Linked DNA regions of Homo sapiens: regions 2, 3, 4 and 5 are each linked to region 1. The links are contacts of gene promoters, found by promoter capture Hi-C in human tissues and cell types (Jung and others, 2019). All regions are on one chromosome and are shown on one strand. Each heading gives the region's core, a stretch centred on a gene start or on the middle of the fragment in contact. The rest is flanking DNA. Distances are from core to core; before and after follow the strand shown. Region 1 holds the start of TRIM35 (tripartite motif containing 35). Region 2 overlaps ESCO2 (establishment of sister chromatid cohesion N-acetyltransferase 2). Region 3 overlaps CCDC25 (coiled-coil domain containing 25). Region 4 holds the start of SCARA3 (scavenger receptor class A member 3). Region 5 has its middle 38 kb from the start of MIR6843.

The links. The method cuts DNA at HindIII sites, captures the fragments that hold promoters and counts their contacts. A contact is called where the count stands out against the background at its distance.
Region 2: a fragment that was not itself captured here is called in contact with the fragment with the promoter of TRIM35 in region 1 in 2 of the 25 tissues and cell types used here (bladder and dorsolateral prefrontal cortex).
Region 3: a contact is called between a fragment that was not itself captured here and the fragment with the promoter of TRIM35 in region 1, in 1 of the 25 tissues and cell types used here (adrenal gland).
Region 4: a contact is called between the fragment with the promoter of SCARA3 here and the fragment with the promoter of TRIM35 in region 1, in 3 of the 25 tissues and cell types used here (liver, neural progenitor cells and thymus).
Region 5: a fragment that was not itself captured here is called in contact with the fragment with the promoter of TRIM35 in region 1 in 3 of the 25 tissues and cell types used here (aorta, lymphoblastoid cells and spleen).

Annotation. Positions count from the first base shown.
Region 1 is chr8:27,308,731-27,314,423 of GRCh38, forward strand. TRIM35 (tripartite motif containing 35) reads right to left here and starts at 2,542. Exons shown (of 6, transcript NM_171982.5): 1 at 2,071-2,542. The coding sequence starts at 2,505. It also overlaps a transcript of PTK2B not described here. RefSeq lists enhancers at 1,511-1,620, 2,021-2,240, 2,251-2,400 and a silencer at 2,551-2,760. The HindIII fragment of the contact is 16,679 bases long and covers 1-5,693 here.
Region 2 is chr8:27,792,983-27,798,675 of GRCh38, forward strand. All of the region lies in intron 9 of ESCO2 (establishment of sister chromatid cohesion N-acetyltransferase 2), which reads left to right. Among named protein-coding and RNA genes, the nearest start is that of ESCO2, 21 kb to the left of the region's middle. The HindIII fragment of the contact is 5,983 bases long and covers 1-5,162 here.
Region 3 is chr8:27,731,790-27,737,482 of GRCh38, forward strand. CCDC25 (coiled-coil domain containing 25) reads right to left here. Exons shown (of 9, transcript NM_018246.3): 9 at 1,527-4,456. The coding sequence ends at 4,427. It also overlaps a transcript of SCARA3 not described here. Among named protein-coding and RNA genes, the nearest start is that of MIR3622B, 33 kb to the left of the region's middle. The HindIII fragment of the contact is 4,166 bases long and covers 43-4,208 here.
Region 4 is chr8:27,631,367-27,637,059 of GRCh38, forward strand. SCARA3 (scavenger receptor class A member 3) reads left to right here and starts at 2,536. Exons shown (of 6, transcript NM_016240.3): 1 at 2,536-2,841. The coding sequence starts at 2,835. RefSeq lists enhancers at 2,170-2,999, 3,000-3,828. The HindIII fragment of the contact is 21,622 bases long and covers 1-5,693 here.
Region 5 is chr8:27,569,919-27,575,611 of GRCh38, forward strand. No RefSeq gene overlaps it. Among named protein-coding and RNA genes, the nearest start is that of MIR6843, 38 kb to the right of the region's middle. The HindIII fragment of the contact is 5,720 bases long and covers 202-5,693 here.

The sequences.
Region 1 (5,693 bases), core at 1,292-3,791:
GCTCTCATTCTTCTCAGATCCATTTGGGACTAGACTACTCAGCCCCTGACATCATCCTGAGTGTCCACTGACTTGACACCATCATTCTTCTGCTAAAACCCCCAGCTGCTGTTCACAGCAAGGGTGAGCCACCGGCCTCCTGGATCCTCCTGCACGTCCCTCCTCATTCTAACTACCCTTAAATTCCCTCAGTGCCTAGAAAGTCAGGCTTTCCCACTTCTGGACCCTTCCAAATGCTGCTGCCTCTATCTGAAATACCCTCTTTCACCTGGCTAACACCTCCTCTTCCCTCGGGTCTCTGCTGGAAGCTCCTTGAGGCTGGAAATGGTCTATCTTGTCTCCTGCAGTATCCCTGGGACCTTGCAGTACCAGGCATCTGCTGGTGCATGGCTCTCTGCTCTTGAATCCTGGCTTGGCCCCAGCCTGGGGGCTCTGCCTGGGTGTTCTCAGCCCTGACCCCAGCATCTCCTGATCAGCACCTCGGCCAGCCAAATAGGCATCAGTCATGACCTGAACCATGATCCCTCCTTTACCTGGGCCCCAGACCCCTGGCTGGCCAGCACTTATTCCAGCTGTCCCAAATCAGGATCTGTCACTTCTGCCAGTGGAAACAGGAAAAGCATTGACATGGACCCATGTTAAACAAAAAAGATGACAGGAGTAACAGGGTTACTCATTGAGACATGCGTACTGACAGCATCCTTACATTCCCCTTCAATTAAACTTTGTCAAATGCATTTGGAGCGGAACAGACTTCCGTATTTAAAAAGGTATTGCAAAAAAAGAAGGCAGGGCCACAGAGGGGGCCAGAAACCAGGCACAGGGGACTCGGGCAGCTCCTCCTCTCCAGTCCATGCAGCTTCGGGCCAGCTACCCAGTGTTCTCCCAATTGGGGCTCTGACTCATGCATTAGCAGGTGATGAAATAAATTCAATGTTTCACATTCTGGGTAATTTTTAAAAGTAACAGAGGCCAGGCGGAGTGGCTCACGCCTGTAATCCCAGTAGTTTGGGAGGCAGAGGAGGGCAGATCACTTGAGGCCAGGAGTTCCAGACCAGCCTGGCCAACATGGTGAAACCCTGCCTCTACTAGAAATTAAAAAAAAAAAAAAATTAGCCAGGCGTGTTGGTACATGCCTGTAATCTCAGCTACTCGGGAGGCTGAGGCACCAGAATCGCTTGAACCCAGGAGGCGGAGGTTGCAGTGAGCTAAGAGCACGCCACTGCACTCTAACCTGGGCGATAGAGGTCTCAAAAAAAAAAAAAAACAAAGGGAAGTAACAGAAAATATCAGAGTGCCATGGACATGTTCAGAAAACTTTTGTTTCAACTGATACATATGTTCTGGGTCACAAGGGAAAATGCATTGCTTCCTATGGGCTAAGATTAAACGTTTTGGAAAATGCTGAGTTAGGCTAACCCTTATCTTCTATTCATTTTTCCTTCCTATATCAAAGAATTCTCCATGTTAGTTTTGCCCTGTAAGTTGCTCCTGGGTTTATGTATAGTCACTAGAACTCTAGATATGGAGATGCTGCTTTATAAACCAGAATAGGCCAGCCAGCCAGGGTCAGAGACCTCTCACTCAGATAATACAAACCGCGGGATCAGCTTGGCAAGTAGGTGACTGGTTTGGGGGAAATCTTAAGACTCCACACCCCTGGCCAGGTCTGTGGCTCCTCCTCCACTTCTAAATTGAGTGTGCCAAGCTACAGGGCTCGTGGGCTGCACCCACATCCGTGCCGCTTAAAGGGACCTGGGCCACACCCGGCTGGCACAAGGGGTGCATGGCCTGGGCCCTTCAGAAGCAAGTGTCGCTGTCTTGGGAACATCATGTAACCTCATCTGTCACTTTCCGTTCGCATTCTCTTCTCCCAGCACGGGCCCCTGGGCCGACCTTGAAGAAGCAGCCAGCCCTGAGAACCTGGGTCGGAGAGGTGGGGTCCTGCATGCTGGGAGCGAGACGCGGGCACACTGGGCTCTGGCAGGCAGGAGGGGCGGGAGCCGCAGAGCCAAGGGATTCCGGGTTCCAGACCCGGCTCGGCCGCCTCGTGCAAATCGCTGCTCTTACCCGAAAGTCGTGGGCAGTGTCCTTCACCGGCTGCACGCGGTGCCCCTGGTGTCGGGGGTCGGCCTGGCAGGAGCAGCACAGCAGCTCCTTGTCCTCGAGGCAGAAGAGGCTGAGCTGTCCGCGGTGCAGGCGGCAGACACGCGAGAAGCGGTAGCTGGTCCAGCGCGCGCCCTCGGCCTCCTCGCGCAGCAGCTTCTCCACCAGGTTGTTGAGGGTGTGGTTGGTGCGCAGGTCGGCGGGTGACGCGCGGTCTTTGCACACTGGGCAGGTGGGCGACACCTGCACCTCCCAGCAGCGGCTCACGCACCCGCGGCAGAAGTTGTGGCCGCAGCGCAGAGTGACTGCGTCGCGGAAGGGGTCGTAGCAGACGGCGCAGAGCAACTCCTCCTTGAAGGAGCGGGAAGGCCCGGGGGACACGTCGGGACTCCGCTCCATGGCACGAGCAGCCGGCTCGGGCGCCCGGAACTTTTGCTCCGGCCCCTCCCACCCGCCCGGCTGCCAACGCCCGCGACCCGAGTGCTGGGAATCGCCCAGTCCCTTCCCCTGGAACGCTGAGAGACAGCGGCGCTGGCCAATCGTGCGGGGGGGATGGCGAGGGGGAGGGAGGGGGCGCTCGGAGGAGCCCCACCCACTTCCGGTGTGCGCGGGAAATCTTGGGAGAGCGGGGTGGGCCTTCTGCCCGCAGTTCCCGCCTCCTCAGGTCCGGGCGGGTCCCTGGCCGGGGTAGCACGGAAGGGTCTCCCAGGCGGCGTAGTAGGGCTTCCGTGTTACTGGAAACCTACTTCCGGCTGCAAATGGGAAAAGGAGCCTCTACCTTAACCAATCCCCGGGAACCTCAGGCCCGCGGATGGGAGAAACCAGAGATGCCAACTTCCTGCTTCCGAAGTAGTGGCTGGGTCTTAAAGCACCGTGAGTGCAATCACCACTTAAGTTTGCAGCGCCTTTTTGAGGACCTATGCCACTCTTGCATTAGTCGTTTACTTATTTTGGCCAGTCTTCTTCTGGCCCGCCGCGGTAAGGAGAAACAAGAGAGGGGTGGCGGCAGAAGAGCTCCGAGAAAACCTGATTCTTGTCCTGTGGTTGAAAAAGTGAACAGGTCATCATGTTTCAAAGTCCATTTACTCATGAGTACAATGGCTGTAATAGCTCTGTTTCCATGAAGTGTGAGGATAAAGTGAAATAAATGTGGAAAGTGCTCATGACAACCACTGTTTTAATGGGCAAGTGCCCATTAAAACAGTGAAATTGAGGACTTCTGCAAAGTTTAGCTGAGATAACTAGAGTTCATGCTCAATTCTTGCCAGGTACAGTAGGCCTGGATGGTTCCTTCAGATCTTCATTCCTGCTTCAGTTTGATCACTTTACAGCCTCCAGATGCAGAATACTTTTCACACGATGCACTTTCATTCCTTTTCTATTGGGAGACAATTCACATGTGTCATGTTCCTGCATGTCTTGAGAGAGCAGAGGCACTGACTGCCTTTTTCCAACTATCTTTTCAAGGATGTTTCTGCATTGAATAGCCCTGGAAGACAGAATTCTTGTCTCTCCAAAGATCTGGCAGACTTATTCCCAATTATAAGAGATGTGAGTTTCCTAAACTTGGGGCCCCTCTCCTGTAATGCAACCTACTGTAGCCTTCATCACATAGTCTTGCAAGAATTAGGGCTCAGAAACTGGCCCAATGACAATACTGTGACTACTATTATTGCTGTTAGTATTATCCTTTGTCTCTGACCCAGGAGTTTCATCTTTTAGCAGTATTCATGAAATTTTGGCATGCAAACTTGTTAGTGTTGAAACTCAGAAAACAATACCCCAAAATGGCCTCAAAAGCAGAAATTTTTCTCTGCCCTCCTATCTCTCAGTCCCCCAAGGATAGCCATAGAAATTAGAATTCCTTTTCCCCAAGGCAGGTCATAGAAACCAGAACCCCTTTTTCCTAAAGCCAGTCTTGAAACCTTAAAATATTACTCTTTCTCTCTGCCTTTCTGTGGAATAACTGGCCATAAAGAAATTATCTGACCTACCTTGTTTGACTGTAGGCCATAAGAGCCCGATTCCAGAGAGGGTCCTACCCCATACCTGTTAGGGGTAGAAGGTGTCTGAGTTAACAGCAGTGAATCTGTATGGGTCTGCAGCAACCTCAATTCTTGCCTCCTTGGAAGAAAGAATTAGACTGAGGGGCATGATATGGTTTGGCTGTGTCCCCACCCCAAATCTCATCTTGAATTGTAATCCCCATAATTCCCACGTGTCAAGGGAGAGACCAGGTGGAGGTAATTGAATCACAGGGGTGGTTTTCCCCCCATGCTGTTCTCCTGATAGTGAGTGAGTTCTCACGAGATCTGATGGTTTTATAAGTGTTTGGTAATTCCTCCTGTGTTCATTCTCCTTCCTGCAGCCTTGCAAAGGAGGTGTCTTGCTTCACCTTCACCTTCCACTGTGATTGTAAGTTTTCTGAGGCCTCGCCAGCCATGCGGAACTGTGAGTCAATTAAACCTCTTTCCTTTATAAATTACCCAGTCAGTCTAAGGCAGTTCTTTATAGCAATGTGAAAATGGACTAATACAGGGCATAAGGCAGAAAAAGCAACTGAGGCAAGTTTCAGAGCAAGAGTGGAAGTTTATTAAAAAGTTTGGGACAGAAAAGAAAGTACACTTGGAAGAGACCCAAGCGGGCAACTTGAGGGACAAGTGTGGCATTTAACCCTGATCCTGGGACTTCATATGCTGGCCCACTTCTGGAGTCTTGCTGCCCTCTCCCTTCATTCTTCCCTCAGTGTGAGCTGCCCGAATGCACAGTGCCCTCCCTATGCTTGGGAGGTGAGCATGCACCATGTGCTTAGGAATTTGTACACATGCCCATCTGAGGCTTTCTTCCCTTTTCCAGTGGAATGCCCCCGGAAGGTCATACTCCACTATTTTGTCTCTTAATGTGCATGCCCAAGCTCACTCACCCAATTTCTGAAATTTTATTGGAAGCTGATTACCAATCTCAAGTGTTTTTATCTGTTTGGGAAATTGCCTATGCCTGGCACCTGCTTTAATATCAATTAACATCAAGTAACACTTTAGTGACAGCTGTGGACCATCAGGGAATTGTCTCTCTCCCTCTCTCTGGCCCATCTGCCAAATTATCCATTTTAGAAAGGCAGTGTGATAACTGTGAAACCATCACCTGGCATTCTTGCTTGAGGGGATTGGGGAGGGTAGAGTCCTCTCCTGCCCTGCTCATGCCTGTCTAACTACCTGTAACATACCTGGAAGGAAGAAATGCATGTTCGTAGAGGCCAAGAAAAATCTAGACAGACAGGCCTAGGTTCCCCACTCAGTTTATTAACATTAGCTCATACCCTTTTGTTCAATCATATTTCTACACAGCTACTCATACTTTGCTGAACCTAAGCATGAAAATGAGCCATTTCCAGTCTATCTTTAGGTCTTCATTCTGAAGGCTCCCATGTCACATAAAACTATGATCAGGCCAGGCATGGCGGATCGGGCCAGGTGCCAGTGGTGGCTCACACCTGTAACCCCAGCACTTTGGGAGGTCGAAGAAGGCCTTGAGCTCACAAGTTCAAAACCAGCCTGGGCAACATAGCAAAACCCCGTCTCTACAAA
Region 2 (5,693 bases), core at 921-3,420, 480 kb after region 1:
GCTTTGTATAAACAGGATAGGTAAGCCAGTCTTTTATGTTCATGTAGTCATTAACACAGCTGGATTATAAAGTCTAGTGATTTTAAGTAAACAAATCTATAAACTGAAATTTTTAAACATGTGGCTTAGTGAAGGTTAATATTTTTGGCAAAATAGTCATTACTTATCCCTTAATTAGAATCTAATTTAGGTACTAATTAGCAATGTTCTAGAAGACATGTAGTTTCTCCTTGTGTTATTAGAAGTTGGAGAGAAAAGCAGCTTTTTTGTATTTTTGCCAGTATAAGTGATCAGTTTGGCCTTTTCCTTCCCCCTCAGCTTTATTAAGGTATAACTGACAAAAATTGCAAATATTTACAGTGTACATGTGATATTTTGATATAGGTATACATTGTAAAATGACTAAATCAAGCTAATATAGCTATACCTCACATACTTACCAACTTATTGTGATGAGAACATTAAATCTACTCTCCTTGCAATTTTCTTTTTCTTTGTTTTTTTTTTTTTTTTTCTTTTTTTGAGACCAAGTCTCACTCTTTTGCCCAGGCTGGAGTGCAGTGGCACGATCTCGCCTCACCACAACCTCCACCTCCTGGGTTCAGGCAATTCTCCTGCCTCAGCCTCCCAAGTAGCTGGGACTACAGCCGCGTGCCACCATGCCTGGCTAATTTTTGTATTTTTAGTAGAGACGGGGTTTCACTATGTTGTCCAGGCTGATCTTGAACTCCTGACCTCCTGATCCACCTGCCTCAGCCTCCCAAATTGCTGGGATTACAGGCATGAGCCACCGCACCCGGCCTTTAGCAATTTTCAAGTATACATTAGCTGCAGTCATGCCATACAATAGATCTGCAGAACTTACTCATGCGAACTTAAACTTTGTACCCTTTACCAACGTTTCCCCATTTCTCCCATCTCTCACTCCCCCAGCCTCTGGCAACCACCATTCTACTCTGCTTCTATGAAGTCAACTTCTTTAGATTCAGTATGTAAGTGAGATGTTGCACTATTTTTCTTTTTTGCTTGACTGATTTCACTTAGCATGATGTCCTCCAGGTTCATTCATGTTGTTGCAAATGTCAGGATTTCCTTTTTAAAGGCTGAATAGTATTCCACCTGTATATGTACCACATTTTCTTTATTCATTCATCCATTGATGGACACTTAACGTTGATTACATATCTTGGCTATGAATAATGCTGCCATGAACATGAGAGTACAGATTTCTCTTCAACATACTGATTTCAGTTCCTTTGGATATACACTCAGAAGTGGGATTGCTGCATATGGTAGTTGCATTTTTATAGTAATCATTCTAACAGGCGTGAGGTGATCTTGTTTTAATTTGCATTTCCTTGATGAATTAGTAATGTTGAATGAGCATTTTTTCATATGTCTGTTCCTGATTTGTATGTCTTCTTTTGAAAAATATCTATTCTGGTTCTTTGCCCATTTTTTAATCAGAGTATTTGTTTTCTTGGTATTGGGTTATTTATATATTTTGGATATTATCCCCTATTGTATACACAAATTTTTTTTCCAATCAGTAGGTTGGTTAGTTTGTGTTTATCCACTCTGTACTATGCAGAAACTTTTCAGTTTGATGTTACATTTATTTCTTCTTTTATTGCCCACATTTTTGGGGTCATAGCCAAAAAATTATTGCCCAGACCGATGTCAAGCTTTTTTCTCATTTTTTTCCTTATAGTTTTACAGTTTCAGGTCCCTCATTTTAAGTCTTTCATCCATTTTGAGTTGATTTTTGTATGTGGTTTGAGATAAGTCTCCAATGTTATTCTTCTGTTTGTGGATATTCATTTTTCCCGACACCATTTATTGAAGAGACTGTGTCCTTGCCCCATTGTTTGTTCTTGGCATGTTTGTCAGACACCAGTTGACTCTAAATGCCTGGATTTATTTTATCTGTTTTGTTCCATTGGCTGCTGTGTTTTTTAATGCCAGTAGGAGTGCAGTGCCCCTCAGCTTTACTCTTTGGTCTAGATTGCTTTGGCCGTTTGGAATCTCTTATGGTTCCACAAGATTTTAGGACTGTTTTTTGTATTTTTGTGGAAATGCCATTAGAATTTTGATAGGGATTGCATTGCATTTGTAGATTGCTTTGGGTAGTATGGACATTTTAACGATATTAATTCTTTCAAGCCATGAACACTGGATATCCTTCCATTTATGTAGATATTCTTCATCTTCTTTCATCAGTGTTTTCTGGTCTTCAGTGTATGGATTTTCACCTCCTTGGTTAAATGTATTCATAAGTGGGGTTTTTTATGCTATTATAAGTGGATTGTCTTCTTGACTTCTTTTTAAGATAGATCATAGTTTGTTTTTCCTGTATAGAAACACTACTGACTTTTGTATGTTGATTTTGTATCCTGCACCTTTTCTGCATTTGTTTATTCTAATAGTTTTTTTGGTGGAGGCTTTAGGGTTTTCTGTACATAAGTTCATGTCATTTGCAAACAGATGATTTAACTTCTTCCTTTAAATTTGAATGCCTTTCTTTTTTCTTCCTAATTGCTCTGGCGAGGAATTCCAGAACTATGTAGAATAGAAATGATGAGAGTTAGCATCCTTGTCTTGTTCCTGATTAAGAGGAAAAGATTTCCACTTTTCATTGCTAAGTATGATGTTAGTTGTGGGCTTGTGATATATGGCCTTTAGTATATTGAGGTACATTCCTTCTGTACCTAATTTGTTGAGAGTTCTTATCATGAAAGGATGTTGGATGCCTTTTCTGTATTGAGATGATCATATAGTTTTGTTCTTCATTCTGTTAATATGGTGTAACACATTGATGTGCATGTATTGAGCCATCCTTGCATCCAGGGATAAAGTCCACTGGATCATGGTGTACTATGCTTTTAATGTGCTAGTTTGCATCTGTTTATCAGGGATATTGGCTGGTAACTTCTCTTGTAGTGTCCTTTTCTGGCTTTGGTATCAGATTAATCTGGCCTTGCAAAATGACTTTGGAGGTATTCTTCAGTTTTTTGGAAGAGTTTGAGGATTAGTATTAGTTCTTTAAATATCTGGTAGAATTTAGCAGTGATGTCATTACAGATGGGCTTTCCTATGATGCAAGTTTTTTTTTTTTTCTTAAACTGATTGAATCTCCTTTTTATTGGTTAGTTTAGATTTTCTGTTTCTTCATGATTTGGTATAGGTAGGTTGTATGCTTCTAGGAATTTATTTCTTATAGGTTACCTAATTTGTTGATATATGATTATTCATAGTCTCTTACGATCCTTTGTACTTCTGTGATAATCAGTTGTAATGTCTCCTCTTTCATTTGTGATTTTGTTTAGTTGAGTCTTCTTTTTTCTTAGTCTAGCTAAAGGTTTGTCAATTATCTTTCAAAAAACCAACTCTTCATTTTGCGAATCTTTTCTATTTTTTGAGTCCCTGTTTAATTTATCTCCACTGATCTTTATTTTCTTCCTTCTACTAACTTTGGGCTTTATTCTTCTTTTTCTAATTATTTGAGGTGTAACGTTAGGCTACTTGAGATCTTTCTTCTTTTTTTATGTAGAACTGCTTTTGCTGCATTCCATAGGTTTTGGTGTGTTGTGTTTCCATTTTCATTTGTCTCAAGAAATTTGTCAATTTCCCTTTTAATTTCTTTGATCCATTGGTTGTTCAGGAGCATGTGGTTTAATTTTCACATATTTGTCAGTTTTCTACTTTTCCTCCCGTCATTGATCTCTAATTTTATACTGCTATGAATGTTCTGTGTGCACTTGAAAAGAGTGTGCATTCATTCCGCTGCTATTGGATGGAATACTATATGTGTTTCTGTTAGGTCCATTAGGTCTGAAGTGTAAGTTCAGTGTTTACTGGCTGAACTCAGTGGCTCACACCTGTAATCCCAACACTTTGGGAGGCTGAGGCAGGAGGATAGCTTGAGGCTAAGAGTTCAAGAACAGCCTGGGCAACATAGTGAGACCCTGTCTTTACAAAAATTAGCCAGGCATGGTAGTGCATGCCTATAGTCACAGGTACCTAGGAGGCTGAGGCAGGAAGATTACTTGAGCCCAGGAGTTCGAAGCTGCAGTGTGCTATGATCGCACCAGTGCACTCCGCTCAGGGCAATAGTGAGACCCTATCTCTTAAGAAAGAAAAAAAAAGTTCATTTCCTTATTGATTTTCTGTCTGGACGATGTATCCATTGTTGAAAGTAGGATCTTGAAGTCCCCTACAATTTTGTATTCCTATCTATTTCTCCTTTCAGAATCCTAAATATTTATATATTTAGGTGCTCCAATGTTAGATGCATATGTATTTACAACTGTTTTATCTTAATGAATTGACCCTTTTATTATATAATTACCTTCTTTGTCTCTTGATGGTTTTTGACTTAAAATCTATTTTGTATGATGTAAGTGTAGGTACTTCCTGTTCTCTTTCGGTTTCCATTTGCATGGAGTCGTTTTTCTGACCCTTCACTTTCAGTCTATGTGAGTCTTTTGTAGGCAATATTTAGTTGAGTCTTGTGTTTTTATCCATTTAGCCACTCTGTGTGTCTTGATTGGCAAACATATTCTATTTACACTTAAAGTAATTATTGATAAATAAGGATTTACTATTGCCATTTTGTTTTGTTTTCTGGTTGTTTTATATATATTCCCTTCTTCCTCTCTTGCTGTCTTCCTTGGGATTTGATGATTTTCTGTAGTGGTGTGCTTTGATTTCTTTATCTTTTATGTATCTACTATAGGTTTTCGCTTTATGGTCATGAGGCTTACATAAAATATCCTATAATATAACAGCCTATTTTAAGCTGATAACAATTTATATCACCTACAAAAGCTCTGCACTTTTTTTCCCTTCAACATTACTAATTTTACAGTTTACATCTTTTTATGTTGTGTATTTATTTAAGAGGCCTTTTCCTTCTTCGATCTCAAAGAAGTAGACTGTTATGTCCTGATAATAGGCAAGATGTAGCTAACTAACTGTTCTCTTCTACTCTCAGGTCAGAAACAATGTTGTGTTGTTCGTAATTAAAAACTAAATACACACCTGTCAGAAGGGTAACAGTAGGTAAAGAATTGAGACAATACCAAATGCTAGTGAGGATATGGGGAAACCAGATCTCTCACACCTTGTTAGTAGGAATGTAAAATATTACAGCCACTCTGGAAAAAGTTTTGAAGTTTCTTTAAAAACTAAACATAGGCCAGGCGCAGTGGCTCACACCTGTAATCCTAGCACTTTGGGAGGCCAAGGCAGGTGGATCACCTGAGGTCAGGTTCGAGATCAGCCTGACCAACATGCTGAAACCCCCCGCCTCTACTAAAAATACAAAAATTAGCTGGGCGTGGTGGTGCATGCCTGTAATCCCAGCTACTTGGGAGGTTGAGGCAGGAGAATCACTTGAACCCAGGAGGTGGAGGTTGCAGTGAGCGAGATCGTGCCACTGCAATCCAGCCTGGGCCACAGAGTGAGACTCCGTCTCTTTAAAAAAAAAAAAAACTAAACATGTATTTACTATATGATCCAGCCATTGTTCTCCTGGGCATTTAAGTAAAACAAAGGAAAACTGATGTACACACAAAAACCTGTACAAGAATGTTAATAGCAGCTTTATTAGTAATAGCCAAAACCTGGTAACAACCAAAGTGTCCTTAAATGCTTTAGGTGAATGATAAGCTATGATACAGCCATATGATGGA
Region 3 (5,693 bases), core at 876-3,375, 420 kb after region 1:
ATAAAATATGAACTTCAGAGTTTGGAAGGGACATTACATGAAGACCAGGGCTTCACAGTGGAAGACGATTCTGGCAAGGCTAGGCTGGTTCCAGGGCACTGCACGGTACCCCGAATATTTTCTCTTTTTCAGTCTGTGGTTTTCATCTGCTGACCCTGCATTGTGTCTTCACCAAGGGTCAAAAAGCTTCAAGTCTGACAGATCAGCCTTTACCACCTGAAAGATCCCGGTTCTCTTCTGAAATCATAAGCAAATGTTAGCCTTGTCTATGGATAGCAAACTGCTGATGCAGAAACCAAAACACCAGCAGGAGCCCAGGCAGCTAAGGCCTCATCCAGGCAGGATGTGAAATGTCAGGCCATTTGTCTTATATTTTCACTGCAGTGGTTACAAGATGGGATTGATGTTGGAACAAAACACAACACTGACTTTGGAGAATTCCTTGTGTTTTTTTTTCAGCGTTAAATATTGACACCCACTCACCAGGCTTGAGAACTAGAAAAGCTACATGGATTTCTAGAGTGAGCAATGATTTCCTCTGGCCGCCATTCCTTGCCAGGTCGGTGCCACTCAGCACATGCCAAGGGCAGAGACCAGTTTCTTGTTTCATCTGGCTATGGTGTAGACCTACAGTCATACCGCTAAGGTAGAAAGCTCACAGCCCCTCCAAAAATTGACACAATAATGAAATCAGAAAGACAAAACTAAGCAATCAATTTAAGACAGAAAAAGAGGTATGTATAATCTAATGATAAACCCAGGTTAAAAGATGGCATTGGGTAGGTATTTGTATTTTCACTGCACTGCTAAGTCACCTAGTATATACACACATCTCTAAATTTTTCTGTATAAAAATTCTGGATTCAAACTACATTCCCTATATAGACTAATTTACTTAAACATTTAAACCCCAGAACACTAGCAGCTAAGGGAGTTAAAACCAATGGATGCAGGTATTGCCCTGACTAGAAATGCAAACCAAATGTGCTCTGGTAAACATTTAAGAATTCAAATATGCTTTTACAGCTGGGAGAAAAACTTGTATGTTTGTGTGGCTCCTCTGAGCCTAAAACCTCCCTGCAAGCATTCTCACAATAGTGTAAACTCTATCATAAAAGAGGTGAAAATCTATCAACAGAACACAACCCATAGCCCTACAGTCATCCATGAAACCGCCCAGGAAGTCTTCACATTTGCAGGCTTGCCTTGGCCAAAATTTCAGGCAGACCCCCAGGAATTTTGGGAGAGCAGAGGGTCAAGCTGTAAACTCCAAGTACTAGTGTTCAAATATTGTGGCCTTTCAGCTCTGGGTTCTTCAATCCTCCTCCTGGAATTCTTGGGCGACCTTCCCTTTACTAGGATTTGCTCCTCTCCTCCTGCTGTGACTGTGTGAAGGGCAGGCATCATCACATGGGGAGCCAAGTACCTCCGTCTCCCCACTTGCCTAAAACAAGCAGGCACATCCCATCAGTGAGACTGGAACTTGCAGGAGAAAATAAGAAGTGAAATCTCTCTCACACACACAGTTCTACTCAAACTATAAGCTTTTATTATTGTATTTTACAGATCATTCATTCAGGACATGCTGCATCTGGGGTTGGCATCATTTCCCTTTTGAATGACAGAATGTGCATAAAAGTCTCTTGCCCACGCTGAACTCACACGTGCCCGGCAGGAAGGAGCTCTCACGAAGTGCCAGCTGGATGTGAGCTTGCTCTGGCAGCAGCAGTGCTGTCCTTGTTTCTGAGCTGCCACCTATTCACTGGAGTTAGGTGGGTCAAAGCTGAAATTTAGCTTGGAATTTAAGTTTCTAATTTTATACTTTTCATTGTGGTCTGGTCAGATTTTAGTCTGCTTCAAAATCAAAAGGTCACTCAGTCACTCTAATATGATCATTTTGAATATGGAAATTTGTTATTTACATGCTGTACCTCAAATCAAAGAAAAAGCACGCGTCAATATCACGCGTAGGAAAAACTAGAAAATTGTTCCTTTTCCATTTTGCCACCCTGCTCAGTTTTCCTCATAAACGGTTCCAGCTTGGAAAACAAGAGCTTCCCCTCTCAGACAGATGCAGCAGCGGGAGGAAGGGCTTTGGTCTTAAACTAGAAGCTGCAGCTGAAACTCTCCCCGTCTAATCCTGCTGTGTGTATGGCTCACACCATCTTTCCTGAGTGGGGAAAACCGCTGGCACTGAATAGCTGAAAGGCTCGCTGAAATCTGTGCTTCAAGAACGAGTTAAAGACAATACAATAAAACACATAGACACTGAAGGGGTTCAACTAATGTCCATCACTTATTCTGCTAATGTCAGTGCCTTTCAATAAACTTCTCAACATCTGTGTTGGTAAACTTCTCAATATTTGTTCTAGCCCAACCACGGTGACAAAGCTCCCTTGCCCAAAGATCGTGAGCCTAGACAAAGGTGGATAAGAAATATGAAGTCTAAAGCTATAGAATATAGCAGTTAGTGAAGTAAATTAAACATGCCCCTCGCCTGCATGCTGATCAGAGTGTTGAAACTGAAGACGACATTGGCAAAGTGACTCAGACCCACAGCACAGATTTGATCAAGGGCACAGCTCATAAAAATAGCAACAATTTCGAATTCTCCTATCCAACGTTTAGGAAACAATCCAATGGCAAGAAATGAGAGGAGTTCAATGCCAACAGTTTGACCTGTGGGCAATCAACCTATAAGTCCTCAAAAGAAAATTTCCTTGCTTTCCCTGGGACCAACAGAGATGGGGAAAAAAATAAAACAAAGAGGCTGCAGGGTTAGGGGCATAGGAATCAACACAGAGCTATGAATTCAACAAGAGAATTCAGCAGAGACCTGGACATTTTAAACCAGTGTAAGCTGAGTTAGGAAATGTTTAAAGTTTGAGCCCCAGGACCTCTCATACTATAGTAAAAATATATGTATTTTTCAAAAGCGCTATCTACATGTGTTGCAGTGTGAGGTACAGAGGAATTCTGTAGAAGCCGGACTCCTTGGAAGTATGGAAGGAGCACAGCTACGAATACATCTGAGATGTATCAAGAATACATCTGAGAAAGGACATCCCTTTGACCCAGTGAGCAGCTGGAAGAAAGAGGCATTTAGCAGAGGAGGAGAAAGATGATAGCCCCGTACAGAACCTGTCAGACTGAGCCTATGATGAATGAGGTTTTTTAGAGCAAGATCACCCTCAAAACCAGCTTGTGGAATGGGGGCTACCCTTTTTAATAGCAAATTCTAAGAATTCATATATCAATGTCCTTCCAGATTAAAAAAATGGTATTTTATTATAACTTTTAAAATTGCGGAACATCAGACTGAATATCATCAGACACATACACAAAACCACTCATCTCTAAAGTCATTTTCTATACCCTCTCAAAATTTGGCCAGTGAGTTTTGCCTCAGGGAATTTTCCAGTTCAACCCCATACACCAACATGGAATAAATGGAAACACTAGCCTTTTGGTTTTGCCCACAGTTCCAAAGTGCTATTACAGGTGGAATATCTGCTGCAGGAGGTCATTCTTGCTGCTGTGGGTGTGAGTAAAATGCTTAGTTCCTTCTAAAATCATAATTGCAATATGGACTTCTGCTTCACGCTGCATCCTAAGGCACAAATCAGGTAACCTACATCTCCCAAATGATCAACAGAGCACTCCATCCTATTTTACCCTCAATGCTGAGAAATTACTCCTGGGCCCAGAAGTTGTCACATAGGTGGCTTGGGTTACTTGGTGCTCAGGCAACAACTGCCACAGGCCCCAGCTTGATGAACACCATCAATTTCTTTAAATATGTTGATACTAAGATGGAGGCCTCTGCTCAGAGGAAGCAAGGACGTAAACGCTGGGACAGACTGCACTGAGGGTCACTACACTAACAGACCCAGATGACACGATGGAACATGAATACTGAAGCTGACAATCTTCTGAAAAATCTCTTTTTCAAAACCCATACGCCTAATCGAGAAATCAGGGACAGGGAAACATTCGCATAATTACCCACCAACATGTTCTTCTTAACAGAAGTGAAGATTATTTTAAGAATATGAAAAGTGTTTCAAGACATCTGTTTTCAGGGATAGACCAGAGCAGCAGAAGTACTTTTCAGAGCTGGTTCATTTTAAAGTCTATCTCAAGAACAAGGGCAGCCTGCTTTCACAAGGTACCAAGACATGTTCTGGCAAAAACATTTTCACTTTAAGTTATATGCTGTCAAGTTCAACTATTTTATACATATCTGATCCTTTTCTGTCAGCAAAAAAGGTACAATTTTTTTAAAACTTGAAAATCAATAATTTCTGGGTAGGATGAAGGTAGAATTTTGGTTGTATTTTATATTTCAGAACACAGATGAAACCAAAAGGTCTGCAATTGTCTCTACATTCACATCTTTCAAAGGTCCTTTTCTCCTTTTCTCCTTTTACATGAATTCATCTGAATCATTGCCATCCTGTAGGAAACACAAAAATGAGAACATAAAAGCCTTGAAAATAATTCAATATTTAAAATTTACAATTATCTTAATTAGCGAGCTGCCTTCTCATCTCAGTCACTGAGTTCAGAAAGTAAAATAACTAAATTGACTCATCACTTCTCCGCCTTAAGTTGTCAGTTTCCTGACATAGCTGAATTAACAGCTATATTTTGTGAGGTGTCATTACATGGCCTGATTACACAGCAGTAAGTGACCACTGATCTCTAAATAATGCAGTAAGTCCCACCTGACCTAGTATAGTGCAAAACAAATGTGACTGTAAGAAAACATGACAGATCCTTCAACAAATGTACCAAGCAAACACTGCCTCAATGTCCTCATGCCAACAATTCTGCCAATATGCAAACTGATTCTGGCCTAAGTTCCAGTAATTTGAGCCTCAACATTGTCACAGATTTGTGACTTCACAACATGGCTTTGATCTCTTCTTCTTTTTTAATAGGAAAGGCCATCAGGAAGTCAAACATAGGCTAGTTTACCAACTTAGTTGGTTTGCCACATTTTTTAATTTAAAAAACCTGCATAATGGTATACAGCACAAAGGGACTGATTTTATTGTGTGGCTTACAAGCAAGTCCTGAAGGCCACACACAAAGGTAGAGCCCTGACTCCTTTTTGGACAACATTCACTAAGAGTGTGCATTCTGATTTGCTTGCCAATGTCACAATCTGAACACTACAGTTGTTTTATCTTTTTTCTCTTTCCCATTGCTTAACACCAGCATTGTTAGAGAAAGGGATCAGACTAAGGCTTATCTAAATGGCCCTTATTAAAGATGGTAGAGAAATACGATATGGGTAGAAAACATTGGTTCCTGTGAAGTCTGGTTTTAGCTCCAACTTCACTTAGTGGTTTTCTCTGTGGTTCTCTTCCATTAGCACGATGAACTGAAGCCAAGGTAAAAATGCCTTCGATAATTGTACAAAGAACAGACTAATGATTGTGTTATATCCAGGCGCAAAGACTATGATTGCCCCAGAGTCTTAATCTGAAATAAAAGCAGTAGCAATGTTTGAAAGAGTCATTTAGTATCTTCAAATGCCAGCTTTAGATCCCAAACACTGAGGATGAACAACTCAGTAAGACAGTCTGGGTTGTCATCAACGAAAGTAAGCCATTCCCTATAAAGGCTGTGAGTTAGATGTGCAGAGTCCCCACTTGTCTGGGGCTATGTTTTGGAATTACAGTAAT
Region 4 (5,693 bases), core at 1,286-3,785, 320 kb after region 1:
CAATAATGCTGCTTACTTCATAGAGCGGACATGAAGATTAAATAAGTTAGCATACAGGTAACCTCCAAGGTAAATAAGTTAGCATACAGGTAACCTCCAAGGTAAATAAGTTAGCATACAGGTAACCTCCAAGGTGACTATCTCCCTGGGGTTTACAAAACAGCTCTCCTGATCCATGCCCTAGTTGTGGGAGACTCAGATCATGCGGCAAACTCGGAACCCAGATACAGGTGACAGGAGCACATGACTGTCACCAGGCAGGCAATGCCCCCTCTAAACCTCAGTCTCCTCATCTGTAAAATGGGCAGCACAGTCCCTGGGATCCCCCTCTCAAGGTGGTTGTGAGGTTCTGCTGAGATCATGGAGAGAAGGGACTTCGCAAACTGTAAATTTGCCATGGCAAAATGGAGATTAGAGAGAACACAGCATCACCCTTGCTGATCTGATGGGATCTACAGACAGGGGTGGCTGTCCTTGTCCTCTTCTCTACTCCAGGCTTAGGAGACACTTTCTCTTCCCCTCGGGTCTCACCTACTTTACTTCAGCATTAAATAGGGCTTGGGGATGGGGAGATGGTGCTGACTGTGGCATCAGAAGAGACCAGGCTGGCCTGTGCCACTTTGTGGTCCCGTTTCTCCCTGCACTTTTCTTCTCATAACATTCATCCCACTTCTGCACTGCTGCTTGTTTAATTACTGGCTTTCCTAACCAGACTGGCCATGTGACATGTTCCTCACACTTCTGGAGCTTGGGGCAGAGCCTGGTCCCTTGTAGCGAAACCATTTTGGTATAGTCTGGCTGCCCTGTTTGCTTTTGGTTGCTTGCTTGCTTTTTGTTTTTCTGGTGAGTTTTTTTTGTTTTTGTTTTTGTTTTTGTTTTCTTTTTTCCATGAAGCTGAAGGCTACACCACTGAACACTGAAACTTAACCTTCATTCACTACTTTATAGGTAACATTCATAGGCCACCATGGTAATGATCTCTTCAGTTGTTTTTTAGGAACTTGGGCTAGCTCCTGTCCATCTCAAACTGGTGAGACCATTGGCCCTTCAACTGGGCAAGTGCCCCAAGAGGTGGGCTTTCAATGTCGGAGAGCCAAAAAACTCCACCCTTGGATCATGCTAACCCTGCCATTTTCTGCATATATGTCCTATGAAATACCATTAGCTCAGACTACATTGGCATGGAATGAACCTGTTTCTTCATTTGTCCCCACTGCCAATTGCCTTTCCCCATGGCTTAGACCACTCTACTTCCCTAACCCATAAATATCCTTAAGCCTGATCTTCTGGGAGGTGGATTTGAGAGCTGTTCTCCCACCTCCTCTCTTGGTGCCCTTGCCAATAAGTCTTTTTTCTCTTTTCTAAAACCCGTGTCACCTGATTGATTACCTGCAGGGGCAGCTTGCAGGGTGGGCAGATTGGACAGCGGACCTAGACCTGGCCGGCAGCTGGGAGCTCGGTAAATGTTTGTTCAATCAATGAAAAATGACACGTGAGAATCCTGAGTGGCGCTTATGACCAGTCTCAACTCCCTGCCTGCATTCACTTTCCTTGGCTGTCACTGTTTACCCCAGAGACCCCTCCACCAACAAAATCACAGAATTTGATGGCCAGGTGCAGTGGCTCAGGCCTATAATCCCAGCACTTTGGGAGGCTGAGGTGGGTGGACCACCTGAGGTCGGGAGTTCCAGACCAGCCTCCCCAACATTTTTAGTCTCTACTAAAAATACAAAAAAAAATTACCGGACGGGATGGTGCATACCTGTAATCCCAGCTACTCGGGAGGCTGAGGCAGGAGAATCATTTGAACCCAGGAGGCGGAGGTTGCAGTGAGCGGAGATTGCACCACTGCACTCCAGCTTAGATGGCTAGAGCCTCAAAAAAATAAAAATGAAAAATAAATCACAGAATGTGGCGCACTCCAGGCCCAATTCTCTCATGTAGAAAGAAGAGGCTTGGAGATGAGAACTGGATGCCCAAAGTCACTCAGCTCGCCAGGGGCAGAGCCAGGGTGCTCACAGGGTGGCCAACCTTCCACGTCTGCCCTGGACACGGGACTTTCAGTACTAAAATGTGCGGACGTCCTTCTCCCGGACGTCCTTCTCCCAGGCCCTCGACATCATAAGATGGGCGAGAAAAACGTGCAGGGCTAAAATCTGGGGTCCCCACCCCTGCCCCAGCCACTTGGCGGTCCCGATAGTGAAATGGACTAAGATCAAGGAGCTCTCCCGGTGAGCCCCCCCATTGCGGCCGCAGCGCGGGCAGGGAGGACGCCGCGGGAGCCCGGGTTCGAGGCTGGGCTGTGGGGCTGCGGGGGCGCACGGGCGAGGTAGGCGGGGCGCGGGGCCCCCGCGGCGGCACAAAGAGGCCGGCCGCGGCAGTTTTGAAAATACCAAGGAAGTTGATCTGGGCCGGGGCCCAAGAAGTGACGAGGAGGGAGGGAGGCTTGCGAGCGAGGGAGGAAAGGAGGGAGAGGGAGAGGAGAAGGCGGGAAGGAGGGAGGGAGGAAGGGTGCGCGGGGCGAGGGGCGGCGGCAGACCTCGCGGGGCCCCAGCGGGAAGCGCGGGCGGCGGCGGGATGCGCGCTCTGGGCGGCGGGGCGCGGCGCTAGGCGCCCGGCGGGGCTTCCCCAGGCTGCGACCCCGCGGGACCCTCCACTCCTCCCGCCGCCTCCGCAGCCCGCGCGCCGGAGCATGAGTCCCGGCCGGAGCCCCACGGCCGCGGGCGGCGCCTAGGACGGCGATCCGCGCCCTGGAGGATCCGCCGGCCGCCCGGCTCCACTACAGCTCCAGCCGCCTGCAGCGGGGCCCTCCTGAGGCCCCAGAGGAAGAGACCATGAAAGGTAAGGGCGGCCTGTCGGGGGCAGCTCCGAGGGGGGCCGCCTGCACCCCCGCTCCACCCAGGGCCTGGGGGGCGCCTTTTCTGCAGGCGAGGCTGAGAGGAGGGCAGGGCGCCTCTGGCTTTTCCCCTGCCTTTTTGGGCATCCTGCGAGACAGGACGGATCCCTGAAGACCAGAGGAAGCAAAGAGGAGAGGGAGGATGGGGACACTCACACACCCCCCCTTGCAGTCCTGTTCTCATCGGCCGTTGCTCTAACCTCACAAATAATTTTAAAATCCAGAGAAGTTTCTGATCCCTTTAACCAGTAGACGCAGAAAGGCATCACCAGCCCAACTTTCCAGCAGTGTAAATTTCGACCCTGGGGACCCATCAGAGAGGCCCCTGCATCCCCCACCGAGCCTTTCAACCGGGGGCCAGGCCTAGGATTCTCCCCCAGGACCTCCAGCCCTTCCCCAAAAGAGACCTGCAGTGTCAGAGCCCCTCAGCCCAGGCCCTGCCCTTCCCAACCCCTGAACCCTGCCTGACCCACCCTCTGACCTCCTTGGGAGGAAGCCGCCGGGGAAGCCCCATGGGCCAGGACTGACCTCTCCCCAGGGTGGTGAGCCAGCAGCAGGGTGGCCCTTGCAGCCAGTTCTTGGGATGGAAATAAGAACCAGACATGATCCCAAGTGGCCATTTCCAGGGCCTGGGTGTCTTTAGGCCCCTACTTGGTCTTCAAGGTCATTTTGAGGCTACAGGAGAAGCAGGCTTTGGAGTTATCTCATGAGGCAGGGAACCTCCGAGGTTTTGAACGCCATTTCGGGTGTCTTTCAGTAATCCTCCTGTAACACCCCCAGCAGATGCTTGTGTTCCTAGCAGTGAGAACCTCACCACCTCATCTGCTTATGGAAAGTAGAAACTGAAAAGGGCCTTTGAGATCATCTACAGGGCTCTCAACCACACTCTCAGGTGCCACTGACAGGTATGGAGGTGGAAGAGGTGGGGCCAGAGCTCTCAGCCTACTTCAACCAGAGCAGCTCTGTTTGTCTCTCATACAAAGAATGGCCTGAGGGTTCATTGGAAGAAAGGGCTCCACCGACAAACTTCTGACTGGATGCAGCCTCCGCATTGCATAGTTAGGGAAACTGAGGCCCAAGCAGGTAGGGCTGGCTTCATGGCTTCTGCAACCAGTGCCATCCTACAAGGTCCCACACTTGGTTTAATGCTCTGCAGGTGCTATCTTGAACTTTTTAAAAATGTATTTTATTTTGTTTTATTTTAGAGATAGGGACTCAATCTGTTGCCCATGCTGGAGTGCAATGGCATGATCATAGCTCACTGCAGCCTCAAACTTCTGGGCTCAAGTGATCCTCCCACTTCAGCCTCTCATGTAGCTGGTACTACTAGGACTACAGGTGTGCACCACCATGCATGGATTTTTTTTTTTTTTGATAGATATGGGGCCTTATTATATTGCCCAGGTTGGTCTATAACTCCTGGCCTCAAACGATCCTCCCACCTCAGCCTCCTAAAGTGCTGGGATTACAGCCTTGATCCACCATGAGGCCTGAAATTCTTATAATTTTTTAACAAGTCATCCCCTCCCACCAACACACAAACACACACACTTTCCTTTTACACTGGGCCCCACAAATTATGTAGCTGGTCCTGTGGACAGAAGTGAGTTGTTACAAATCACAGTTAGTCAGGGTGACTAGACCCCAGGACTCCTGACTTCTAGTCTAGAATCCACCTTGCCTCTTTGTGGCTTCCTTCCCTCTGCCTCTGGCACCTTCTTTCTGTGCTTCCCGTTGGCCTCCCCAAGTCCTAGGCTCTGCGGGATGAGCCAAGCAAGTTATAATCAGCCCTAGGGAGCACCTGGCAGGCAGTGAGGGGAGCCTCGCCCCAAGTCCTGCTCCTCACTGAGACACCTTTGCAGCTGAACCCTCTGCAGTCAGCTGGCCCAGGGCAGACCATTACTGGAAGCCTCCAGAAAGGTCTTGGACCACATCTTACACGGGGCCACACTGCCCTGGACCTTGATGATGGTGGTGAGATGTTTCACATTCTCAGAGTGGCTCCACCCCAATTCCAGACAAGCACCAGCAGGGTGTGGTGGCAGATACCTGTAATTCTAGCTACTCCGGAGCCCGAGGAGGGAGGATCGCTTGAGCCTGGGAGTTTGAAGTGTAATGAGCCATGATTGCACCACTGCATTCCAGCCTGGGCAACAGAGTGAGACCCTGTCTCTAAAAAAATAGAATTTATTTAAAAAAAGAGGCAGGGCCAAAATCCTGTGAAATAGAGAAGAAAAGAGCTGGTGTGAATGAATATTTAAAAAGAGGTGCCTGAGGAGGACCCGCTGACACCACGTTGCAGGGTTCCAGGCTCTCCTTGTGCTGTGGGTTCCTATACAGGAAGCCAAGCCCTGCCTCTCTCCTCCTTTCCCTTGGATCCCACAGCCTCTTCATGTGCCGAGCGGGATTCCTGTCTACGGAGGCCCTGAGGGCGGCGCTGGTGTGTTTTTCCTCCAGCCTCCGGAAACCCCTCAGTGATCTCCCATAACATCACAGGGGCTGCATGGGCTGCGGGGCTGGGGGCTGACTTCCAGCACTTCCCTCCCTGGCAGCCGGGAAGAGCCGCCCCTCTACCAGAGATGGAAATGGCAGGGCAGACAGCAAATAATTGGCTTCCGGGATCTGTGGGGTGTAAAGAACCAGGATTTTTCTCACTCGAGTGGAAAAAGTAAAGTGCCCGGCAGAGTAGGGCAGGCAGCCCCTTCCAGAGAACCCTTCCCGTGCTCCTCCAGAGGCCACACCAAACTTCGAATTACATCTGTTGGCAAAGGATCATGCCCTGCTCAAAACAAACACG
Region 5 (5,693 bases), core at 1,812-4,311, 260 kb after region 1:
GATGGGTGGATAGATGGATGGATGGGTGGATAGATGGATGGATGGTTGGATGGGTGGATGAAGGGATGGATGGATGGATGGATGGATGGATGGTTGGTTGGTTAGAGGGATGGATGGATGGATGGTTGGATGGATGGATGAAGGGATGAGTGGATGAATGGATAGCTGGATGGTTGAATGGTTGGATGGATGGATGAAGGGATGGATAGATGGATGGATGGTTGGTTTGAGGGATGAATGAAGGGATGGATGGATGGACAAATGGATGGATGGATGGATGAAGGGATGGATGAAGGGATGGATGCATGGATGGATGAAGGGATGGATGGATGGATGGATGGACGGATGGATGGATGGATGGATAGCTGGATGGATAAAGGGAAGGATGGATGATGGATGGATGGTTGGATGGATGAAGGGATGGATGGACGGATGAAGAGATGGGAGAATGGATGATGGATGGATAGATAGATGAAGAGATGGATGGATGGGTGGGTGGTATGCAGCATACCTGAAGTGCCTGGAATCCTAGATCCATTCTTCATATTCACTAAGCCATAGGACTCAAATCTATGGTTTCAAGTTCCTTGAAGTTTGGGCTCTTCTCTAGTCATATTGAATAAGGATTCAATATGAGCAGATCCTCTGTGCAGATGGAGTTGGCAATAATTTGAGCAGTACTGACTCAAGAAGATGAAGATCATGGGCTTTGAAATCAAATGAACCCAATTTTGAATGCTGGCTCTGCAATTCCTAAGCTGTGAGCGTGTGCCAGTCATTTAATCCTGCTGAGCCTTAGTTTCCTCATCTACGGAGAGTGTTAATAATGTCTACCTTAAAGTATTGAATCTGAGGATTAAGCCAGATAATACATGTAAAGCATCTAGTTTAGTGTTCAAACATGCCCCGCATGGCACTCAGTAGGTGACAAACAGAAACTTGTTTTCTAGCCCCCAGTCTAAAATCCTTCCCACTGGAATTTCTAATACTTTAAGACTTGGGGCAAAGACCTTCACTCCAGAAGCCCCCTCCTCAGAGGCATGAGTTTGGGGAAAATCTTTACCCAGAACTCCCAACTGGTGGTTGAAAAAGTGATTCCACAGTTCCCGGGGTACAGCATGGATCCCTGAGGTGCCAATGCTGGGCCTGCAGAAATCATTCAGCAAATGAGATGCCTGATGTCTTAGCCCAAGAGAGTGGGGCAAGTTCAGGACAAGAGCATTCCGTAGAATTGTTGGGCTTTGAAAAGGCATGCCTGAGCCAGGGAGCCCCGTGAGGAAAGGGGCAGGGAGGAGGACACTGGAATGAGGAAGGGAGGCTGGATGTTCACTGGCCCACACGGCTCCACCTGGAGCCGTCCCAGACTCTGAGCTTTTTGGGGTGACCTTGGGTGTGCTTCAACCAGCCACAGTCCCTCAGAGCAGTGCCAAGGGGTTCACCAAGGCCACTTGTTCACACCAAACAGGGTTTAAAAGGCATTTTCATATTCTGCCCAGTGCCAGGCATGCTGATTGAGAGGGATTGTGGATTTGGCATTTGGGGCTCATATGACCCATGGGCTCACCTTGAGAGCCATGAAATACCATTCTGAGCTCCCACCATGAAGACGGAAGAGATTTTCCTCCAGCCCTCATGCCTCTGTTGATCGTGGCCTTTCCCCTCTCTGCCTGTCAGGAGTGAACGCTCCCTCCTGGCTATGCAGCAGAATGTGGCAGGGACTCCCACAGAGGTGCAACCCAGGGAGGGACCTTTGTCAGGCCTGTGCTGGGCAGCCCAGTGACCCTTTCTTCTCCTCAACAGTCCCCTCCAGGACAGCCTGCATCTCTCCCCCTCAGCAGCTCCTGCCGTCATCTCTGCCCTTCAGGGTCCTTCTGGCCTGGACTGGACTGGCTGCAGAAGTGATAATAGGTCTTTTGCTTGGCTCATTCCTGCTGTCTCTGAACCAAGTACACCAGCCTTTCTCAGTTAAACGGTTTCTAACATACAGGGAATTATGGAAATAGCATGCAGCGAGGGGTCCCAGAGCAGCCCGTCTTGGTCTGTGCACTGAGGTTAAGCTCTGCGCGTGGACTCGTGAAGGAACTTCAGCCTTAGAGCTGGGCCTCCAGGACCAGCAGAGGAGCCAGCCTGCCCTTGGGGCTTGAAGTTGAAGGCAGTATCCAGTGCAGAGGGCCTACCCAGGAGCTAAAGAAATAATTCAAGCCTGGCAGAGACGGCCGAGGCAAAGACCATGCCTCAAGTCCGGAACATGGGAAGGAGGTGTGGACGAGGCTGGGCAGAGTGAGCATGGCCTGGAGAGGATCCTAGGGGCTGGAATACAGAGCCAAGTCCATTTTCTCAGGGTCCATGTTCAAGAGGTATTTAGGATGAGGAACCAACAGGACTCGGCAGCTGAGTGTGTGGTGAGGTGGCAGGAAGGAAGAGTCAAGGATGATGGGGCCACCATCAGTAGAGAATCCAGGAGGCTCGGCAGGGGCAACAAGGTGATTGTTTCCTTTGGGAACTTGAGTTCGAGGGGTCTCAAGCGGAAGTGTCGGAGCAGCTGCTTTGAAGTTCAGGAACTCAGGGGCTGGAGGTACAGATTGAGATGTCATATTCACCAGCTAGAGAGGCCATAGCAAATACCACAGGCTGGGCAGCTTCAACAGCAGATATTTATTCCCTTGTGGTTCTGGAGGTAAGAAGTTCAAGGTGAAGGTGCTGGCAGGGTTGGTTTCTCCTGAGCCTCTCTCCTTGGCTTGCACATGGCCACTTTCTTCCTGTGTCCTCACATGGTCATCTCTCTGTGTGCCTATGTTCCTAATCTCCTGTTCCTATAAGGACACCAGTCACATTGGATTAGGGCCCCTTCATATGACCTCACTGAACCCTAATCACCTCTTTAAAGACACAGTCTCCAAAGACAGTCACATTCTGAGGTGCCAGGGGTTAGGAACTCAACGTAGGACTTTGGAGGAGGCACAGTTCAGGCCATAACAAGGGTCATCAGCTCCAAGACAAGTGACCGCAAGAGTGGAGGGGACACCCAGGGAGAATGGGTTTGGGTGACAAGAGGGCCTTCGAGGACAGGAGCATTCCACGGGTGAGAGGACGCAGAGGCTGCCATGAAGGAAACAAAGGGGATGGTGAGAGAAGACTGAGGACCATAGGAGGGCGGTGCTCTGGAAGCAATGGTGCTGGGTGCCCAGGATGGAGGCGTCAATGCTGCAGGGAATCAGGGACCCACACCCGGAGCTGATTATTCACAGCCATTGCTGACCTCTCTCTGTGAGAACAGCTGGAGTGGGGCATTGGGCAGGGTGAGGGGTGAATGACCATCACAAGCCAGGAAAAGATGGGTGGCAGGACCTCTTTCAACAAGAAAGGTGCCAAAACCCTGCCTAGTTATAGAATCAACTTTTCTACTTCACACTCAGATCAGAATTTATTAATCTTTAAGCTGAATGTTTTGACCCAGAGATAAAGGGATGCTTCTTTTTGCCAGAGGATTGGCTTTGGCCCCCTCTCTCCTGCTAGGATATTAGAGGTGGGTGGAAGATGGACGGTCTCCTGGTACCTGCCCACCCTCTCTCCGCCCTCTCTTTGACCTGGCTGAGATGGGCTGAGATTGATTACAGCTAAGTCCTGTTTCTGTCAGAGCCTAAGCTTGGGCTGCCATGCGCGCGCACGCGCACACACACACACACACACACACAACTGACCTTTCTGTGTTCGGAGCTCAAGATTGTGGCCTCCAGGTCATCTCAACATGGAGGCTTCTCACTTAAACATGACATCCTTGAAAACTCAAAGTGACTCTTAGGCAATAGATTACCTTCCCAAAATTTCCAATTTATTTAACTTTAGAAGGCTGTGATGCATGAGAAATAGCAATTATAATCTCCCCCCCCAAGAAGACAAAATACACAATTGCATGCATGTGTGCACCCACACACAATTGCACAACCAAAAACTCTCAGCAAGGTGCAACGGCAAGGACTCTGGGAAGGGAGGCAGGTGCCCAAGCCCTGCTGTTCTGCTGACTCTGTGTGACCTTGATCAAGTTCCTCCAACTTTTGGGGACTCAGTTTCTATGTCTTTTAACAGTGAGATTGGATTGGTTAATTCCCTGCGGTCACTTTCAGCTCTGACATTCCATAAGCCAGCACAGCACTTGGATGCAAAACTGTCCCCCCAACCTTATTGCTCCACCCTAGAGATAAGGCCATCTCTTGCATTACTGTTTCTCTTCCTTCAAGGATCTGGTGAAAGTTCTTGGGCTATCCCTGAGGAGGACGTGAACCCTGTTGGGAATGTTGCTGCAGTCCCCACTGGTGACCCCAGTTCATCCCAGGGGGCTTATGGAGCAGGACTTTGCTCTCCTGCTCACTCATCTGTGCTTCAGTGCACTCTGGATGGATTCTCTTCCCTGCCCTGAAGTGGCAGCTGCTGCCATACCCTGCTTTGCAGACCCAGCACCAGTCTTAGAGGCCATCCTTAGTTTCTGTCACCACCACCCCCCACCTCCATTGGCAGGCCATAAACAAGGACTGCCACCAAGGGTGGGTGGCAGTTTCAGCCCTGTGATTCACTGCAAGGGGTGTGTGCAATAAATAGCTCTGTAGTTAATTGCCTTTTGCTTGCCACTCAGAGCAGCCTGTAAAGGGCATCTGTGAGAAGCTGAGAGTGCTTGGGATGCACCAGGGTGGGGTAGGGGCGGGAGTAGGGAGAGCTAAGCTGAAGATGGACAAACACAGCACAGGCCTTGCTCCCGCAAAGGAAACAACTCCATAAAGGAGCGGGAAGGATAGATTTCTAAGTCAGGAATCAGAAAATTCCTATGTGGGCTTATCTAGGGGCTGCTCTGGGATGCATACAGCTCCCCAGCCCCAGGTCCTCTGTTTAGCATAGAGCTGCTCTCTTTTTATTATTATTATTATTGTTATTATTATTATTATTATTATTATTATACTTTAAGTTTTAGGGTACATGTGCACAACGTGCAGGTTTGTTACATATGTATACATGTGCCATGTTGGTGTGCTGCACCCATTAACTTGTCATTTAGCATTAGGTATATCTCCTAATGCTCTCTTGACAGTCAAGCTCTCCAGGCAGGTGGGTCCTGAGTCACGGGAGGAAGTTGTGAGGCGCACAGACGCCTGGACGAGGAGGCATGGTGATTGCTTCCTGTGCATGTAATTAGGGTTGAAGATTCAGCTCTTCAGCCATTTCTCCTTCCCTTATATTCCCTTCCTTTCCTTTCCCATTTCCTTCCTTCCATCTAACACATGTCTATAGAATCACTACAGTGGATCTTCCACCCTAAGTTCTGGAAGCGCCCCAGGAGACCCATCAGGAGGGTTGACCCCTCAGTGTAGCAGTCGAGGCAGGGGGGATCGCATCTCCAGAGTCAGACCATCTGGTCCCCACCAACCTGCTGTCACTCTGCACAAGTCCACCAGCCTCTCTGGGACCTGGATTCCTCACCCATGTGGTGGATGAGAGCTCCGCTGTCCTCCTGGGACTCTGGTCAGGCTGAGAGGGAAGACTGCACAGAGATCCTTTGTCTCACTGCCCTTTACAGACAGCCTCAGAGAGAGAAACCCGCAGTTCTACCTCTGACTCTTTCGGGAGATAATGCCGGACACCGGGCCCAGGCTCTGTGGGGTTGTGTGGATTCTAGGATCAGAGTCAATGCTGGACTTTCCTGG